3 separate regions of the Homo sapiens genome follow, and regions 1 and 2 are each linked to region 3. Evidence: promoter capture Hi-C in human tissues and cell types (Jung and others, 2019). All regions are on one chromosome and are shown on one strand. Each heading gives the region's core, a stretch centred on a gene start or on the middle of the fragment in contact. The rest is flanking DNA. Distances are from core to core; before and after follow the strand shown.

Evidence for each region. Contacts are between HindIII fragments. The study calls those that stand out against the background at their distance.
Region 1: a contact is called between a fragment that was not itself captured here and the fragment with the promoter of GRHL3 in region 3, in 2 of the 25 tissues and cell types used here (mesenchymal stem cells and spleen).
Region 2: a fragment that was not itself captured here is called in contact with the fragment with the promoter of GRHL3 in region 3 in 2 of the 25 tissues and cell types used here (liver and mesenchymal stem cells).

What each region holds. Positions count from the first base shown.
Region 1 is chr1:24,240,680-24,244,281 of GRCh38, forward strand. No RefSeq gene overlaps it. Among named protein-coding and RNA genes, the nearest start is that of LINC02800, 42 kb to the left of the region's middle. The HindIII fragment of the contact is 8,376 bases long and covers 1-3,602 here.
Region 2 is chr1:24,222,519-24,226,473 of GRCh38, forward strand. No RefSeq gene overlaps it. Among named protein-coding and RNA genes, the nearest start is that of LINC02800, 24 kb to the left of the region's middle. The HindIII fragment of the contact is 5,414 bases long and covers 1-3,955 here.
Region 3 is chr1:24,317,265-24,320,947 of GRCh38, forward strand. It overlaps GRHL3 (grainyhead like transcription factor 3), which reads left to right and starts at 2,093. Exons shown (of 16, transcript NM_198173.3): 1 at 2,093-2,304. The coding sequence starts at 2,288. The region is part of intron 1 of GRHL3-AS1 (GRHL3 antisense RNA 1); the gene reads right to left. The HindIII fragment of the contact is 14,571 bases long and covers 595-3,683 here.

The sequences.
Region 1 (3,602 bases), core at 290-2,789, 77 kb before region 3:
AGAGAATCAAGGGGATTATTGGGTGACTTCCAAGGAGTGTGAGTGAACCTTGGGTCCACTCAATGCACAGCACCTCACAATATGCTTCTTTCATTTAACATTCTCCCTGGACCTCTCTCTAGGTCGACTCTTGTGATGCTACCTCATTCTTGTTAATCATTTCATACTTTTTCATTACGTGGCTGGGTGACTTGATTCACCCCTTCTTCCACTGATAGCATTCAGGTCATTTCTGATTTGTTGCAGTGATTATTGCAGACAATGTCGGACTAATCATCCTGAGATATATGTCTTTAAAGACTGGGCTGTGTAGCCCATTGTACTAGTCTATTCTCATGCTGCTAATAAAGACATACCTGAGACTGGGTAATTTATAAGGGGAAGAGGTTTGATTGACTCACAGTTCAGCATGGCTGGGAGGCCTCAGGAAACTTACAATCATGGCAGAAAGGGGAGCAATCATGTCCTTCTTCACATGGCAGCAGCAAGGAGACGTGCCAAACAAAACGGGGAAAAGCCCCTTATAAAATCATCAGATCTCATGAGAACTCACTCACTATCACAGGAAGAGCATGAAGGCAACTGCCCCCGTGATTAAATTACCCCCCACCGGCTCCCTCCAATGACACATGGGGATTATGAGAGCTACAACTCAATATGAGATTTGGGTGGGGACACAGCCAAACCATATCACCCGTTTAGTATCTTTGTGCAAATTAGCAAAAAATACCCCTCCCATAGACACCAGCCTGTAACAAAGTACGCAGCTTGGCAAGTGGCGTGTAGGCCGGATTCCAGCCCTACATGCCCCATCGGTGTGGTGTCCTTCCTTGTGCAGTGAACAACCTGCACATCCTTATATGGTAGTCTCATCTTCCACACTCTGTTTCTTTCTCCCCCTGTAAGACGGCTCCCTAAACGTTAGACTGCCAGGACGAAGGGTCTGTGAGCATTTTTTTTTTTTTTTTTTTGGAGACAGAGACCCTCTGTCGCCCAGGCTGGAGTGCAGTGGCGTGATCTCGGCTCACTGCAACCTCCACCTTCCGGGTTCAAGCAATTCTCCTGCCTCAGCCTCCCAAGTAGCTGGGATTACAGGCATGAACCACCATGCCTGGCTAATTTTTGTATTTTTAGTAGAGACAGGGTTTCACCATGTTGGCAAGGCTGGTCTCAAACTCCCGACCTCAGGTGATCCACCTGCCTTGGCCTCCCAAAGTGCTGGGATTACACGCGTGAGCCACTGCGCCCAGCCCTGTGTGCATTTTTAATAATAAAATATTCTACTACATTTTTGTGCGTATTTATAAAATTATATTTGCTATCTTGGAAGGTGCTTTTTAAGTATATTTCGATCCTAACATATTTGGACTGTCTTTCCTGTTACTACCAATTCAATTTTTGTACAGTGATTTTTCTTAACAGCTTTTGGGGTATAATTGGCATATAATAAACTGTACCTATTTGAAGTGTGCAATTTCATAAATTTTGACGTATGTATACACTGTGAAACCATCACCAGAATCAAGACAATTAACATATTCATTGGCTCCAAAGGCCCCTTGGGAACCTCTCCTTCCCTCACTGTCTGGCTCTCTCCATCCTTAGGCAACTACTCATCTGCTTTCTGTCACTATTGGTTAACTGTTCATATTTCCTAGAATTCTGTAGAAGTGGAATCATACAGTATGTGCTTTTTTTCCATCTGACTTCTTTCACTCAACATAATTATTTTGAGATTCACCCATGTCGTTGCATGTATAAATAGCTCACGGCTGGGCGCAACAGCTCACCCCTGTAATCCCAGCACTTTGGGAGGCCAACATGGGCGGATCACTTGAGGTCAGGAGTTCGAGACCAGCCTGACCAACATGGTGACATCCTGTCTCTACTAAAAATACAAAAAAATTAGCTGGGTGTGGTGGTGCATGCCTATAATCCCAGCTACTAAGGAGGCTGAGGCAGGAGAATCGCTTGAAACTGGGAGGCGGAGGTTGCAGTGAGCCGAGATCACACCATTGCACTCCAGCCTGGGTGACAGAACGAGACTCCGTCTCAAAAAAAAAAAAAAAAAGGCTCATTAATTTTTATTGCTGAATAGTATTCCATTGTCTGAATATACCACAATCTGTTTATCCACTCACCAGTTGATGAACATTTAGATTGTTTCCAGTTTAGGGCTGTGGCAAATAATATCCTCTTATTCAGATTTGCTCTGAATATTCATGTACAAATCTTTGAATGGACATAAGCTTTCATTTCTCTTGGGTAAATCCTAGGAGCGCGATGGCTAGATCACATAGCTGGTGTATATTCAGCTTTTTAAGAAAATCCCTGCGGGGAGCGGGGAGAGATAGCATTAGAAGATATACCTAATGTTAAATGACGAGTTAATGGGTGCAGCACACCAACATGACACATGTATACATATGTAACAAACTTGCACATTGTGCACATGTACCCTAAAACTTAAAATAAAAAGAAAAAAAAAAAGAAAATCCCAAACTGGTTTGCAGAGTGGTTGTACTATTTTACGTTGCTACCAACAGTGTTTGAGAATTCTGGTTGTTCCACATCCTCAGCAACACTTGATACAGTCTTTTTGGCTGGGCGCAGTGCTTCACACCTATAATCCCAGCACTTTGGGAGGCTGAGGTGGGAGGACTGCTTGAGCCCAGGAGTTTAAGACCAGCCTGGGCAACATAGTGGGACCTTGTTTCTACAAAAGAATTTAAAAATTAGCTGGGTGTAGTGATGTATGCCTGTGGTCCCAGCTACTACTCAAGCCAGGCTAAGTGGGGAGGATGGCTTGAGCCCAGGAGGTTGAGGCTGCAGTGAGTCGTGTTCACACCACTGCCCTCCAGCCTGGGTGATGGAGCGAGATCCTGTCTAAAAACAAACAAACAAAAAGCTGTATTCTTTTTAATTTTCGCAACTGTATGTTGAGCATCTTTTATGTGTTTACCATCTTAACATTGTATTTGGTGAAGTGTCTCTTCAAATCTTTTGCCCAGTTTGGCCAGGCGCGGTGGCTCAAGCCTGTAATCCCAGCACTTTGGGAGGCCGAGGCGGGTGGATCACGAGGTCAGGAGATCGAGACCATCCTGGCTAACACAGTGAAACCCCATCTCTACTAAAAATACAAAAATAATTAGCTGGGCGTGGTAGCAGGCGCCTGTAGTCCCAGCTACTCAGGAGGCTGAGGCAGGAGACTTGTTTGAACCCAGGAGGCAGAGCTTGCAGTGAGCCGAGATCGTGCCACTGCGCTACAGACTGAGTGACAAAGCGAGACTCCATCTCAAAAAAAAAAAAAATATTTTGCCCAGTTTTAATTGGGATGTCTGTTTTCTTACCATTGAGTTTTCAGAGTTCCTTATATGTTCTAGATGAAAGTCCCTTATCAGATATATGATTTGCAAACATTTTGTTTGTATTTTACTTTTGCATTTTATCATTTTTATTATATTTTACTTTGTATTTATTTTATTATCTTTATGTTTGTGTATCTTACTATTTTTTTTTTAGACGGAGTCTCGCTGTGTCACCCAGGCTGGAGTGCAGTGGTGACAAAAACTTTGATAAAGTTTTTAATGTTTGTTTGTTTG
Region 2 (3,955 bases), core at 357-2,856, 95 kb before region 3:
CTACCCTCAGTCTTTTCATCTAATTCAGGTGGGGATAATTAGACCTACCTTGCTTGGTAATTTTTAAGATAGAGGATTTAATTAAGTGAAGTGCTTTGAACAGTGCTTAGCGCACATTGGTGCTTACTAAACTTTTCTTATGAATGAATGAATGAGTGAATGAATGAATGAACAAGAATAACTGTTGACCGCGCTGAGCTGTATACGCGGGTCTGAATCCCATGCTGGTTTGGCTGGCTCTCTGCACTCACTATGCCTGGAACAGAGTAGTCACCTAATACATATTTGCTGAAAAAAATTCTTCTAAGTCCAACTTAAGGAAGTTTTCAGGCACACACACACAAAAATCATACACTGCATTCCAAAGTAGATAGAATTTATTCAGGTGGTGATAATACCTCAAGTCTTCAGACCCAGTATCAGGAAGCCTCATCTGTGAACCAGGAAGCAAGCAGAAAAGACCTCTGAACACACGAAAGTATAAAGTTCATGTGCCAATACCTATGACTTCTTTCCTAGAAATACCCTCTGACTCTCATTTGTAACCTAGTTACTCTTGGCTTACAAACAACTTTCATTAAGGTTTTCAAGCCCACCTTAGACTAGAAGAAGCAAGTTGGAGAGGAAGAAATCCTGGGAGATGGAGAAGTACTTGTACAGAAACAATTCCAGGTTGGGCACGGTTGCTCACGCCTGAAATCCCAGCACTTTGAGAGGCTGAGGTGGGAGGACTGCTCGAGCTCAGGAGTTCGAGACCAGCCTGAGCAACATGGCAAAACCCTGTCTCCACAAAATATACAAAAATTAGCCAGGTGTGGTAGCATCGCCTGTAGTCGCAGCTACTCGGGAGGCTGAGGTGAGAGGATGGTTTGAGCTCAGGAGGTCAAGGATGCAGTGAGCCATGATTGCACCACTGTACTCCAGTCTGGGCGACAGAGCATGACATTGTCTCAAAACAACAACAAAAACAACCAAAAAGACAAAACAAACAAACAAAAAAACAAACCAATTCCACCAGGAAGTTGGGCTTCATAGCCATAAAATAGGAATAACAAAAATTCAAGAAAACCCCACGATAATGTAAATCTGGTAAACTGCTATTGGCAATTTGGCTCCAGGTCCCTAGAAGTCAAGACCAGCTAGCTACGCAGGTGGCTGTACATAAGCTAATGCAAGATTGCATTTGAAACAATTGGAATTTGTGGGCCCCACTTTTAATGTTCTGGTGGGGTTTCTACTATGGCAATATTTCTCATTTATTGAGGGCTTCATATATTCCAGATGTTTTAGGTACATGTTCTCACTTAATCTTACAATCAACCTATGAGATGGGTACTGTTATCCTCTTAATACAGAGCATGGCTTCTAATCCTTGGCACTGTTGACTTGTTTGAGGGGCTGTCCCTTGTGTTGTAGGAAATTCAGCAGCATCCCTGACCTCTGCCCACCAGATGCCAGTAGGATTCTCCACCTTCCAGTCATGACAACCAAAATTGCCAGATGCCCCTGGCACAGAATTGGCCCCAGCTGAGAAAATGTTATAAATGTGGGAACTGAGGCTCAGAGAGGGTGAGAGTTGTCCAAGGTCACACAGCTTGCAAGTGGCTGAGCTGGGATTTATACCCAGGTCCACAGGTGCCAGACAGAGCACAAGCTCTGAAGCCCTGGAGGTTGTGCATAAGTTACTCCACAGAGATTGCCGGGAGGCTCCAATGGGATCATCTCCCAGAACAGAAGTCATAAGTGGCTGTTCTGAAGCCATCAGTGGCTGACGTAGGCTCATTGGGGATGACCTTTACACTTGGGGACAAATTCCCCTGAACTATATCCTTGGTCTCCCTGACTCTCTCCTCTCCTGCATTTCCATAGAGGTTTCCTTCTCACAATGTGGAAGCAGCAATGAAGGGCCATATCTGGGGCCTTGGTATCCCATTTTTGTTAGGCAACTGGTGTCTTTAAAGGGTGAATTTTGGGAAAAAATAATACCTCTCCTATCTGGGTTTATGGGACTACCATCTGAGCTGGTTGTCCTACTGAGGCCGTAAGTCAAGGAGGACAGTTAGGGTTAATGGAACCCAAGGACCCCAGTGAATTCAGCGGGGCCTGTGTTGAGGATTCCCAGGCTGTAAGTGGGCTCAGTGATGAGCAGGGCCATCTGGCCTGGGTACGAGAGGAGGAGTATGGCAGGCTGTTTCCATCCCCGCCTTGGGGCTAGAGGGAGTTGATCCTCTGGCAGGTCCTGAGTCAGGAAGGCAGGGCTTTGGCAGAGGAAGGGGCCTCTGCATCCTTCTGGGCCTCACTCACTGTGATCTGGGCCTGGCGGAGCTTGGGTGTTCTGGTGGGGGATGTTCTGAGGGATGGAGAGTGGCCTCCTGCACACGGAGGTAGACAGGGAGCTGAGTGCTTGCTGAGGCTGCTGAACCTGAGGCTGCTGAACCAAGGCTGAGGGGTGTGGCAGGTGACACAGGTAACTTTGTCTTGTGCTGCCGTCTGTGTTTATTTCCCTCCTATCTCCCTTCCCCCACCCAGGGACTTAGTGACTTCTTGTTTATTATAATAAAAATTTTTATTTTTTTGAGACAACTCTGTCAGTCAGGCTGGAGTACAGTGGTGTGATTATAGCTCACTGCAACCTCGATCTCCTGGGCTCGAGCGAGCCTCTCACCTCAGCCTCCCAGTAGCCAAGACTACAGATGCGCGCCACCACACCGGCTATATTTTTTGTATTTTTTGTAGAGACAGAGTCTCGCTATGTTGCCCAGGCTGGTCTTAAACTCCTGGGCTCAAGCGATCCTCCCACATTAGCCTCCCAAAGGGTTGGGATTACTGGTGTGAGCCCCCGTTCCTGGCCAACCTCTTGTTTAAAGGAGCTCAGCTGCACTATGGGGAATGAAGGCAAGAGCTCCGAGGCTGTGCTTTAAGCAGACCACCAAAGGGAGCTCTGTGCGCCCCTCCCCAAGACAGCAGGGATCAGTGAGAAGCCCCCAAAAGAGGCGGAATCTCGAAGGACAGGACTTGGAGCTGTCCCCACTCTGTTAACAACTGTGGAGGCGGAGGGCTTTGGCCAGAAGATTCCTACAGAAGCCACCCTCCCCAGGGTGAGCAGCTGGTTCAGATCTTGACCTAGAGGGATCGGGGAAGCACTCGAAACAATTTCACCATTATCTATAAGGATGGCTTCACACACATGTAACAGCCTACTGGGAAAGCTTTTTTTTTTTTAAGACGGGGTCTCACTCTGTCACCCAGGCTGGAGTGCAGTGGCGCCATCTCGGCTCACAGCAACCTCTGCCTCCCAGTTCAAGTGATTCTCATACCTCAGCCTCCTGAGTAGCTGGGATTACAGGTCTGTGCCACCACACCTGGCTAATTTTTGTATTTTTAATAGAGGCCTCAAATGCCTGGCCTCAAGTGTCCACCCACCTCGGCCTCCCAAAATGCTGGGATTACAGGCATGAGCCACATGCCTGGCCACCATACACTATTACCAGTGGTTTTTCCTGGGGAATAGAATTTTGCATAACTCGCCTCTACTTTTTCATTGTTTGTGTGCTTGCCTGTTAACAAACATAAAGTCAGTCTTCTATATCCCTGGGTGCCGTATCTGTGGGTTCAACAGACTATGGGCCGAAAATATTCAGAAAAAAGATGGGTGGTGCATCCGTACTGAACATGTACAGACTTTTTTCCTTGTGATTATTCCCTAAACAATACACGATGGCAACTAATTACACGACATTCATATTGTTAAGGTATTATAAGTAATCTAGAGATGATTTAAAGTACAGGCATACCTCGGAGACACTGCAATGAAGTGAATATCACAATACACTTGAGTCACACCAACTTTTTGGCCTCCCAGTGATGTGCACACTATACTGCAGTCTATTAAGTGTGTAATAGCATTATGTCTAAAAAACAATGTACCCATCTCAATTAAATAATACTTTATGGC
Region 3 (3,683 bases), core at 843-3,342:
GCCCTTCACCTGTGGGTTGCAACACGGTTGACAGAAACTCCACAGCCTTCCATGAGGTGGGCAGACAGGTACATACAGAGGAGTGTGCCATCCTTTGGACTGCAATAAGCTTTGCAGTTACAGTTGGCACCAAATAGCCCTTCAGCCACCAATAAGCTCTGTGAAGTGGTTGGGCACCCAGGCTCTGCTCTCGGATTAAATCCCAGCTCTAGCTCTACCACTGCCTAGCTCTGCAGCTTGAGTAGTTTACTTCAGTATTCTGTACCTCAGTTTCCTCATCTATAAAATGGGGGTATCAAAAATGTCTATCTCCCAGGGTTGCTGTAAGGATTAGGCGACACAATGTATGCAAAGGCGCACAATGCCCGGTGCCTGTGGTATATGAAGCACCTACTAGGTGCCAGACACTGGAGATTCCACAGTGAGCGACACAAAGTCTTTGCTCTTATGGAATTTACATTCCAGAGGAAGGGGAGAAAGACAATAAACGATTAGAAAAATATCATAGGTCATATTACATTGTATCATAAGTCATAAGGGCTCTGCAGAGAACAAAAAGTAGTGTGATCCAGAGTGATTGAATGTCTACTTTATTAACAAGGGTGACTGAAGAGGGCTGCTCTGAGGAGGTGGCTTTATTAGCAATTATTTACTATTATTTATTAGGGTCCCCTGGGCTTCCCCCAACACAGCCTCCAGGGAGAAACCAATCTCTGAGAGTTCTCAAACCCAGTACCCCCTCTCCAGAGCCCTGACCCCACCCCAAGAGGGCTCCTTTGAATTCTGACTTTACCCTGAAAAACCTCCATAAATTGGCAGGGGTAGCTGAAACCTCACTTGCCGTTCCCAGAGAAGAGAGAGAGGAGTGGGCCAAGTTGAGGTTTCCAGGAAGACACAGCAAAGAGATAATTTGCCAAAAGGGGAAGGGTGGGGGAGGGGAGAATAGAAAGAGAGAGAGGGAAAAAAAGATGCCAAGATCTCTGGCTTAGATTTAATTTCAAACTAATCCTGGAAGAAGCTCTTTAAAAAGCTCTTACATTCTCCTGTTTGTGTTTGTGGATATTCTGGGGTTTACCAAGCTTGTTCTTTATAGTAGACAGCTCACAGCAATTACTCCACAATTACTTCATCTGACAGGCATTGAATTTCTCCCAAGTTCCCAATACAGAACGAAGCACTTGGAGCCTGTGAAATGACCAGCTGGCTGAGGCTTCAGAGGAGCCTTCAACTTTTCTATCCCTTCTGTGCTGACCAGAGGTATGTGGCTTGCCCACACCCCCTTCACACCCAATAAAAGCCTGTTCTCCTTTACTCCCCCACCCCCTGCCACCAACACACACCCCCCAGATTGTAAACTCCTTTAGAACAGTAACCCCTGTTTTTTCTGGCCTCAGTTTCTCCAGAACCCAGAGTAGGGTCTGGCACACAACGGGTGCTCAATGAATGTCTACTGAATTGAGGCCACTGACTTCAGCCCAAGGGGCAGCCAGACTTGGAGTGAGATGACTGCAGATTGGATCTGGGCTGGGACCTCGCTAGCTGTGCCCTTGGGCAAGGCACTTTGCCTCTCTGGCCTCCATTTCCTCCCTCATCTGTAAAATATGTGTTGAAGAGGAAGGGGGAAGCGATAATAAATCTACCACGGTAGGTTACTTTAAGAACCAAAAGAAGTCACTTGAGTAACTGCAAAAGATTATTCAAAAATATTACCTTAAAGGGGAAACTGAAAAAAAGGGAACTTATACAAAGATCTACCTGGGAAAAGTTGCTCTCTCCTTTGAGAATTCCCCAGTGGTACAGAAGGAGGGGGCAAAGAAATTTGGGGGTGGGGATGTTTCTGGGTATCTGGGACAATGACTAGAAACAGGAATCAAGTTTTCCTTTAAGCCAAGTTATCTGTTTGTCCCTGTACTTTTCCTCTAGTTATCTTGCTTCTTTCCAACATTTTCTTCTCCATCCCTCCTCCCTCATCTCCACCCCCCACCCCCTCACCAAGGAAGGAATTGGCCAGCTCCACCCAGCCAGTCCCCCATAGCTCCGCCCTCCTCGGCGGGCTAAGAGTTAACAGCTGCACCTGTTGAGGTATACCTCCAGTCGCCGGCACCTGTACCTGTAGCCAATCAGCGCCAGCGCTGCTGGGAACCTACCTGTCAGCAAAATCTCGACACCCAAACCTCAACATAAATCAAACACTTTCCCGGGCAGAGAATGTCTGTGTCAGGCAAGAATTAGAGACAAGCGGTCAGCAGAGCCTCAGTGCTGATCGTCGGAGCTTGGGAGCAGGAAGATGTCGAATGAACTTGAGTGAGTAAACATCGGTGGATACCTGCCGCTCTCAGAGCGTGGAGGCTGGATGGGGTTTCCTGGAGGGGGAAGAGCGGGGAGGCCGGCACCGGGATTCACAGAGCAATTTGTAAGGGTAAATGAATGGGCTGACGATCTTACTTTGGCGTGTCAAGGCAAGCCCCAGTCTCAAGCTAGAGGTGAGTGTTTCCCTGGGAAAATAGTTTTTCTCATTCTCTTTGCTGAGCAGTTTCGAGCCAGGCAGGGAAACACAAGACTGAAACTGTGAAGGTTTCTGGCACCACTTTTTGATCCTCTGAAGGGGCCTTGGAAATCAGACGACCCCAATCCCATCGAGGCTTTCTATCTTCTTGCCAAAAGGAACTTCTTTAAGGTAGTTCTAAGAGCTGTCTTAGGCAGAGAGTTGGGTTTCTCTAAAGGGACTTGTTTGCTGGGTTGGAACAGTCCCAAGTGGGAAGGTTACAGTGTGGTGGTTAAGCATGTGTACTCTTTGTAGTGGGCTTGACCTAAGTTCAAATCCAGGCTCTGTCCCTGGGTGATCTCAGACAAGACATTCAATTTTTCTGGGCTTCATTTTCCTCATCTGGAAAATGGGTACAAGAATGCTTTGTAGAATTCTGGAAAGAGTTAAGTGTGATAAATGCTGTAAAATGCTTAGCATAAAGCTATGGTCTGAAGATGCGTTCAGTAAAATGTGGTTCCTCTCATTCAGAGGCAGTTCTAAGGCTGGGGAAGATGAGAAGTGATTTTTGGTAGGTCACCTCTTTTGGCTGGGAGGATGCATGTGCCTTCCTGCCCACATCTGAGATTTAAGATCCTGACTGACTGATGCTGATCTTCACCATGATGTCCTTCTTGGGGTCCAGACCTTAGAGAAGGTAGGGTGAGGCTGGGATCTGGGCTGCTTTAGATTGGGTTCAGGGAGCTGGCAGGAGAAGCCAGAATCCTTTAAACACAGGCTCTCCTTTTCCTGCCACCCTCAGAGGTGAGTGGGCAGAGGCAAGGATTGTACCATCTTTTTTCTAACTGCTCCTCAACAGACTTTTAAGAACTTGAAGATCTGTGGGCAGACAGCAGTGCTAGGTCCTGACTGCAGACCGGATTCTATGTTCTAGCTAGCCCTTCAGCTCTTCATGTTCACAGCACAATCACTTGGGTTAACAGGCACATTTCTTTTGAATGAATTTCCCGGGGTTGACAATGTATTGACAATTGGACCGCAATGAGAATAAGAGCAGGAGCATTGGTACTGACACCTGGGTTCAAGTCCCAGCTCTAGCACTTATAGCTGTGTGATGTTGAGCAAGTCCCTTAATCCTCATCTGTAAATAGTGGCCAACAGTAGTATCCACCTCATGGGGTTGTTAGAGGATTTGACA